Regions from separate parts of the Homo sapiens genome. Here all the other regions are linked to region 3. The links are contacts of gene promoters, found by promoter capture Hi-C in blood cells and fetal thymus (Javierre and others, 2016). All regions are on one chromosome and are shown on one strand. The core of a region is centred on a gene start or on the middle of the fragment in contact, and the rest is flanking DNA. Distances in the headings are between cores, read along the strand shown. Region 1 holds the start of UBE2L6 (ubiquitin conjugating enzyme E2 L6). Region 2 holds the start of SMTNL1 (smoothelin like 1). Region 3 holds the start of SSRP1 (structure specific recognition protein 1).

The links. Contacts are between HindIII fragments. The CHiCAGO score rates a contact against its expected background, and 5 or more counts as called.
Region 1: the fragment with the promoter of UBE2L6 here is called in contact with the fragment with the promoter of SSRP1 in region 3 in 8 of 17 cell types (M1 macrophages, M0 macrophages, activated CD4 T cells and 5 more); the score reaches 11.4 in M1 macrophages.
Region 2: a contact is called between the fragment with the promoter of SMTNL1 here and the fragment with the promoter of SSRP1 in region 3, in 12 of 17 cell types (M0 macrophages, erythroblasts, activated CD4 T cells and 9 more). The highest score is 11.7, in M0 macrophages.

What each region holds. Positions count from the first base shown.
Region 1 is chr11:57,566,269-57,568,968 of GRCh38, forward strand. UBE2L6 (ubiquitin conjugating enzyme E2 L6) reads right to left here and starts at 1,404. Exons shown (of 4, transcript NM_004223.5): 1 at 1,317-1,404. The coding sequence starts at 1,343. RefSeq lists an enhancer at 1-154 and a silencer at 1,408-1,767. The HindIII fragment of the contact is 19,025 bases long and covers 1-2,700 here.
Region 2 is chr11:57,536,283-57,538,982 of GRCh38, forward strand. It overlaps SMTNL1 (smoothelin like 1), which reads left to right and starts at 1,313. Exons shown (of 8, transcript NM_001105565.3): 1 at 1,313-1,360. The HindIII fragment of the contact is 14,036 bases long and covers 233-2,700 here.
Region 3 is chr11:57,334,532-57,337,231 of GRCh38, forward strand. It overlaps SSRP1 (structure specific recognition protein 1), which reads right to left and starts at 1,361. Exons shown (of 17, transcript NM_003146.3): 1 at 1,199-1,361; 2 at 537-709; 3 at 1-117. The coding sequence starts at 590. It also overlaps a transcript of P2RX3 not described here. RefSeq lists enhancers at 530-599, 1,450-1,499 and a silencer at 1,100-1,279. The HindIII fragment of the contact is 4,158 bases long and covers 1,299-2,700 here.

The sequences.
Region 1 (2,700 bases), core at 154-2,653, 230 kb after region 3:
CAGTTCTTTCCTACTGCCTACTAGGAAATCACCTGACTCAGAGGAACAGAAAATGAAAGTAGAAAGGCCATTAAGAGAGCCTGCAGGCTGGAGGCCTGTGGACCTGGTTTCATATTCCAGTCCCATTGCTCCTTACTGAAAGACTCTGGACAAGCAAGTTATTTCCTCTGTGCCTCAATTTCCTCATTTGTAAAATGCGGGTATATATTACTTATCTCACAGAACTGCTGTGCGAATTAGATGAAATAACCATGTAAACCGTTTGGCATGTAATGGTTCCAATGCAATAAATTCTGGCTCCCATCTCTCTTCCACTTGGCTGGAAAGACCCTCTGCCTCATTTTGCTGCCAACCTCCAGATTTAGTATCTAGGCCAAGCCTGCTCTGGGCATCCCAGTCTGAGGCCATTTTCTTCTCAGAGGCTGAGGGTAGCAGGCACCCTCTTCCTAGAGCCTGCCCCTCCACCCTGCAGACTGGAAGGGGCACTTCTGAAAGACTTGGGGTGCCAGACTCACTTCACCAGGATCACCTTCCTCCCTAATCCATCTCCAAACACCCTGGGTTTTCCCACCTTCTGGAGGAAACTGCCCCCTCCCCATCCTTCCAGATCTTATTTCAAATTGTGTCCCTGATAGGAACAAAATTCAACAAGGGCCGGATTTGTGTTCATCTCTGCCCGCCCCCCCCCCCCTCCTAGAACAGGGCCAGCACATGTAGGCATTCAACACTTGTAGAACTCACGAACGCAAGCCACCTACTCCAGGAGGCCTTCCAGGTCCACCTCCGCATCTTTTCCTCCAGAGAATACTCAGGGAACTTTGTCCCAAATTCTAATCAGCATTCCGTGTTTCTCAGGACTCTAGTAATACAGGCATCAAATTATGGGATGGGCTATGGGCTTATTCCAAGGCAAGGACTTCATCCTGGTCATCTGTGTTCATAACCCACCACCAGCAGTAGCAGAATGCCTGGCACCAAGATGCCAAGGACTTTTCCTGCACTGGAGATGCACCCAGTTGTTATCACAAGTTTCAGGCAGGAAAAGCGAAATTGAAACCAGTTTTGGGGGAGCCGGCTCATCTTCACCACGCGAACGGCTCAAGCAGAGGCCTCCAAACCCCCAAAACCCCAGCTCTGGCCACTCTTGCAGGCCAGTCCTCCTCTGAGTAGAGGGCGGGGAGGACAGGGATTCAGCCAGCCCTGGTGCCCAGACAAATAAATAAATGTGCTCGGAGAGCCGCGGAGGGGATGGAGGGAGGAGGGAATGCGGGAGGCGAGGGGAGCCAAGAGAAAGGGGTCATCCTATACGCGGTTACCTTCACCACTCGCATGCTCGCCATCATGTCGGGACCGAGTGTGTGGCACCCGTGGCCTCCAGCAGGACCGAGCTCCGACCCGCGACACAGCGCGCCCCGCCCCGCCCCGGGGACCCCACCCCCGGCAGCCCCGCCCACCCCTCCTCCAGCCGTCGCTGCGTGGGCCTCCCCGCACCCGCTCCGGCGAGGCCAGGAGGCCGTCGAAGGACGACCCGCCGGACAACCGCCCGATCCCCGCGCGGAAGGCTCGGACCCGGGACTCACGGTCTTTGTGCGGAGACGGGGGCGGGCCTCGGGGCGCACGGCTTTGCTGATCCCTGCCTCCCGCGGGGTGCGCCGTGCACCGGCGGCGAGCGCTCAGGGGCGCTGGGGGGCGCTCATACGGGTTCCAGTCTTCGCTCCGCCGGCGGCCGCACCGGGAGCTCTCCGGTCTTTGTCAGCCCCCTGCACGCCGCCCCAAATACACACTCGCCCTGAATAAATAAGGGATGCTCGCTGTACAGACGCAGCTCCGTGACAGTTCTCAGCGGCCTCCACTATCGGACTGCCGCCTTGAGCCCCTGCCCCAGCAAGCTGCCGGAGCCGCCGAGCCTGCCGCCTTCCCTCCATGGGCCCAGCGCTCCATCTCCGAAACTGCGTGGGGGATGGCGTAGACCTGTGCCCTCCGAGCACCGCTCCCCGGCAGTCGGGGATCCTTTGTGCTGCCCGGCGTTCGGCGCGGGCTGCAACGTTTCTCCCCGTGGCTTGGGGCAGAGCACCGCAAGGAGGCGCTGTTGGACCCTTTCTCTTTTGCTTTGGGGGTTCGGTCTACCATCATTCAGTCCTTTACTAGGTTTAGTATTTACTAAGTGCCTACTGTATGCTGGTTTGGGAAACAGTTGGTGGGGGAAGCCCCAAGAAGGACTCAGGAGCCTCCTTTCCAAGAGAGAGTCTGCTTCCCCTCCCTTACTTTACTACTGGTCCATTACAAGCTGTGGGCCTAATGTGTGCCCCCATGCACAGCTGGAGTCCCCAACCCTCTGTGCAAGGACAGAGTACTTGCAGCCCCTGAGCACCAAGCAGCATCTGGGGAAGATGAGACTTGTTGGGAGGGCCGATCCCCTCCTTCTCACCCTTCCCTACCCCCGTTTAGTCCAGACGAGAAAGGAAATCAGTATATTTTGAGCACCAGTTTGTGATCTCAGTACCTCACAGTTTTTTTGTTTCTTGTTTTTCTGACAGAGTTTCACTGTCGCCCTGACTGGAGTTCAGTGGCGATATCGGCTCACTGCAACCTCCGCCTCCCGGTTCAAGCTGTTCTCGTGCCTCAGCCTCCTGAGTAGCTGAGATTTACAGGCGCGCGCCACCACGACCGGCTCATTTTTGTATTTTTAGTAGAGTCAGG
Region 2 (2,700 bases), core at 63-2,562, 200 kb after region 3:
GGACAATAAAAACTGCTGAAATGAGGGAGAGGAATTGAAGGTCATGGAAAACCTCTCTGAGGGAATGAAATTTCAGCTAAGTCCAGAAGAATGAGAGGGAGGCAGTCTTACAAAGAGTAGAAGGAAAAACCAGTCCTGAGTCTGAAAAGGGATGGATTTATTTAAGGAATAGGAAGGAGGCCAGTGTGGCCCAGTGGTGGGGCTTGGGGTAGGAGGACTGGGGGGGATCCCAAGCTTCGTGGGAGTGTCCTCTGCACCCATTCTCCAAAAGTAGTGCCTTTCTTAGATTGTAAAACACACAGAGAAAGTGAAGACTTTTTTTTGAGATGGAGTCTCTGTCACCCAAGCTGGAGTGCAGTGACTTGCTGCAACCTCTGCCTCCCAGGTTCAAGCAGTTCTCGTGCCTCAGCCTCCCAAGTAGCTGAGATTACAGGCATGCGCCACCAAGCCCGGCCAATTTTTGTATTTGTAGTAGAGACAGGGTTTCACCCTGTTGACCATGCTGTTCTTGAACTCCTGGCTTCAAGCAATCCACCCGCCTCGGCTGCCCAAAGTGCTGGGATTACAGGCATGAGCCACCATGCCCAGGCTTGTTTTGTTTTTTTCTTAGCAAAATGTCAGTTCAGTATAAAAATGTGTTCAGAGCCTACTGTGTACCTGTCACTTCAGCTCAAAATAGAACTCAGGAGTTTTGTATTTTCCAGGCTCCGTCCAGTGATCCGTCAGCTTGTCCCATCACTTTTGCCCTCTCTGCCCCTCCCCCTCCAAATCTCTCAGTCAACTGTGAGCCCCAAGACACATCCCCTGTGTTGGCAGCTGCCCTACTCGCCCCCTCCTTAGCCCAGCCTTAAGCAGCTGCTTTTGTCTGAGGACGAGGGAAAGGGGCTATGTAAGGAACGTGGCGGGGTGGGTGTGAAGGGAGCACAAGAGGCCTCGCCTGGGCTCTGGATGAGCAGTGGAGGCCAGGGCCATGCTCTAAATGAGTCCTGAAGATGGTTGTCAAGGTCCCTAGGGTTAGGAGAGTCCACTGGGGAGAAAGATGACCACAGGACGGATGCTGCCAGGCTCAGGGCGGAAGGGACGTGCCGTGATTGAAAGGTGCCACCTGTCAGATCTTCCACGGGAAATCCGAGCCTCCCAGTCTAGGGTAAAGTGTTGTACCAACAGGCCAGTAAACAATGCTCTTCAGGCAGCCCAAGACTCTTGAAGTGGGGGTGGGGTGGAAGAGGGAGAGGAAGGGGGGAGGCGGGACCAAAGAGCTGGGGGCTAGAGGCCACTGGGGCTTAAAGGCAGCCTGGGAGTGAGGCCACTCAGCTGGAGCAAAGAGACAGCTCCCAAGCCACAGGCAGAAGCCCCACAGGTAGGAGAAGCCCTGGCACCCTTTCTAAGGGTCCCTCCCCATCTGCCAATTCTCACTCCCACTGTCCAAGGGCCAGAGCCTCCCAGGAGGGCCCCCCATTTGGAGAAATCCAGGCTCCTTTCTAATTCTCTCCACCACAATGTCTACTCTCTTTAGATGCCTGGGGTCTCAGCCCTGCACCAGAGCACCTACAGAGCAGACTGCAAGTGGCCATCCACGAGGAGGCCACAGAGCAGGGGAGGGGACCTTGGGAGTCTCAAGAGTCAAACTGGGTTGGGGGGTAGACTGTCTAAGCCAAGCCTGTCCAGCCCACAGGCTACCTGTGGCCCAGGATGGCTTTGAATGTAGCCCAACATGAATTCATAAACTTTCTTAAAACATTATGAGATTTTTTTTTTTTTTGCAATTTTTGTTTTAGCTCATCCACTATCGTTAGTGTTAACGTATTTTACATGTGGCCCAAGACACTTCTACTTCTACCAGTGTGGCTCAAGGAAGCCAAAAGATTGGATACCCCTAGTCTAAGCAATTGAGGTCGGCCTCTCCAAGGGAGGGCCCCTGGCTGAGTGGGGAAGGTGGAAGCCTTAGGACAACCAGATGACAGATGAGGCTGCAGTGGGTGGCAGACGCACCACAGAACATCCAGTGTTTATACTACTGGGAGTTTGGATCTTGGGCTCCTGGGTCCCTTTCCTCCTGGTCTGCCAGAAGAAACAGGAAGAGAGAGGGAGGGGAGATATCTGCAGTGCTGCTTTGGACACAAAACAGGGATGGTTTGGAGACTTCCTGGGGAAGGAAGGAGGAAGGAAAGGAGAGAATAAGAAAGGAAGGTGGGGGCAGAGAAACTTTCATGAAGGGCCTACTGTGCACCTAGAAGAAAGAGGGAGGAACTCCTCGGCTGAATCTGACTGCCCTTCCCAACTGGTGGGGTGCCCCCACTCTGGGCCAGGGCCTTTGTAGGGACACTGGGCTGCGGAGCTAGTGGGAGCATATATTTGATGTGAGCTCTGGAGTGGAAGTTGGGATACTTGGATTCTAGATAGAGAGCCAGGCCACTTGTCCTATAACTTTAGTCAAGGGACTTCAACTCCCTGAGCCTGAAATCCCCATTGGCTCCCTAATGGGGCCAATAACCTATTCTGAAGGGTCGGAGCAAGAAATGACCAAGAGAAAGCAGGGCCTCCGCAGCATAAGCTGTAAACTGCTGTAGGGCTGTGAATGCTGGGGGTGGGTGGTGGCGTCCTGGTTTCTCAGCATTCTGAGCATCTTCACTCCTTTTCTATTTGTGACAAGCCTGGAGGGTGGAAAGCTGAGGTGATAAACACGCAGGATAGCCGAGG
Region 3 (2,700 bases), core at 111-2,610:
AGCAACACGGCGCCAGATACCTTCTGTTAACTCCCCAGCCTGGATGTTGTCCACTTTGCCTGTCTTGCTATTCTTGAAGATGATGCCCTGACGGCTCAACCTCAGTCGACCATCATTCTGTAAGAAAAGCAGGCCCAGATGCATGGAGACAGTACACAGCATGTCCTGGGTTCTACAGCTCTACCTAACACACATTCCTGCTGCAAGTGGACTGGCCAGATTATCAATGCAGGAGCAACAGCTGAGGGTGCCAAGGAGTCTAGATTCTAAACCAGACTCTGGTATCTAGAACCCTTAACAGATTCTCAGTTTCCTCATTTGTAAAACAGGAATTGGGAACTGAACAGCATATACGGTCCCTATAACTCTGAGACTATCTCTCAGTATTGCCTTGAGTTGGTGGAGACACTAGGTACACATTATACTGAGTCTTCTTTTTCCAAAATAACGTTACCAAAGCAAGCTCTCATTAATGGACAAAAACTCTACCCTCCTTCCTTCTCTCTACTTGTATCACCTGTCCAAGCCATTCTCACCATGGAACCTTTCACCTCCTGATAGACGTCGTTGAACTCCAGTGTCTCTGCCATGTCGACCCCTGCCTGTGGTGGCCTGGGCAGAGCCCCAGGCTGCACAAGGGAAACCAAGTAAACTGGGAGCTGGGCCCCAACTCCTGAGTGGGTGTGCGGATGCTCAGCAGGTTGGGAATCTGAATTCAAGAGGAAGACAGATAAGCATGAAAGACAGCACCTCGCTGTGCTCACGGATGGAGCCAGGTAGCAACTCCCAGCTGCGCCTGGATGTCTCAGGATTTCCTCTGCCTGGAAACCTACAGACGGACGCTGCAGTGCCCGAGGGTCCAGGTCCAGGCCTGGGTGGAGAACCGGGCCCGGAATACCGCTGACACCCAACCCGACGCCCGCTCTGGCCGCTCCGGCGGGAGCCATGGCAACGAGCAGCGGAACCCCAGGGTCTGCCAGGAGCCCGCACATCGCACGCGACCCAATCCAGCTCAGAGTGCAGGGTTTCCCTCGCACCGCTCCCACCACCCCGCGGCCCCAGACCCACGGTTCACCCCCGCCCCACATAATGGATTCGCCCGCTCCCCGCGGTTGCGAACGCGGAATGGTCCATGTCGAGGGTCCCGTGGGGGAGCGGGGCCCCTGCCTTCCTGGGACCGGGGACGACCACCACCTACCTCCTCAGGCTGCGGCCTCGCGAGGGCCCCGGCGCGAGAGGTGGGCGCGCTGGGGGGACGCGGGGGGGGCGCGGGGAGGGGGATGGGGGGACACCGGGGAAGCTTTTCCCGCGTGCGCGGCCCCGCGTCCCGCCACCGGAAGCCGTACACAGGCCACAGAGAGGATGAGCTGGCTAGAGAGACGCGAGTCGGGCCCGCCTGCGAGACAGTCGCATAGAGCGTCAGCGACTCTGGAGGACCTGAGGGAAGGGTGGTTGCCGTGAAGCCTCTCTCACCCAGGGGGAATCCGGCCTAGAAAATGTGTGTAGGGCTCTTTAGAAACTACAGACACTTCTTCAGTCGAGACTAGATACTAAAGAGAAATTGTGTAGTTTTATTGTATCAGACTTAGTACAGGGGTGGGGTGGGGGTGTGTATTGGAATGATGCGTGCCCGTTTCTCTGCAAAATAGTTTCTATGTCATGGAAAGGAGTCGATGGGACAAGAAGAGAAGTATTTGAACAGTTGTGGGAGGAAACGACCTCTCCCACTGGCTGCGGAGAGTATGCGGGTGTTGGTGTCATCGTGGGTGCACTGCTTTCTGGCTGAACTGTCAAGTTCACTGTCTACACCCAAAATTTTCACATCCTTAACCGAAAATTATAGGTACCTCCAAGAGGCTGGCAAACGGCCTTATCCAGTTCAAGTCCTGGTGTCAGATTCACCTTGGAGCCAGAACTGATTTGAAACCACATCATCCTGTGGTTGCGGAAGCCAGGTCTCCCCCGTATAATCCCAGAGTGCATTTTGCAACATCAGAGACCAGACCTGGAAAAGATGTTTTAGTTTTTCTACCCCAACCTCCTTTTACTGATGGGAAAACTGAGACCCAAAGGGGAGTGAGTTGCCCAGGGTCTCAGTGCGTTGGCAACAAGGCTAGGTAGGACCCAGACCTCCTTAACACCACCAGTCCAGTTATCTTCTGTCATAATCACAGTGACTGTATGTTCAGAATGACTATTGATATGTGTCCTACATGAAGACATTAGTACAGAATATGTAAGCTCAAGATTTCCCTGACAATCAATACACCAGCTTGCTAAATCAATCCTGGGGTAAGAGACAACAGGAATGCACCCTTCTCCCCTGAACTCATAGCTTTAACCTCTGAGTAGTGGCTATTCCAGCATTATCTAGCAAAATAAATTCAACTGGGTTTAATAAATAGATATTGAGGGCCTATTACTACTTTAGCACACTTCTCAGATTTGAGGAAACTTGAACAAGGTGAAAACATCCCCGGCCAGGCACGGTGGCTCACACCTGTAATCCTAGCACTTGGGGAGGCCAAGGCAGGGAGATCACTTGAGGTCAGGAGTTTGAGACCAGACTGGCCAACGTGGTGAAGCCCCGTCTCTATTAAAAATACAAAAATTAGCCAGGCGTGGTGGCGGGTGCCTATAATCCCAGCTACTCAGGAGGCTGAGGCATGAGAATTGCTTGAACCCAGGAGGCAGAGGTTG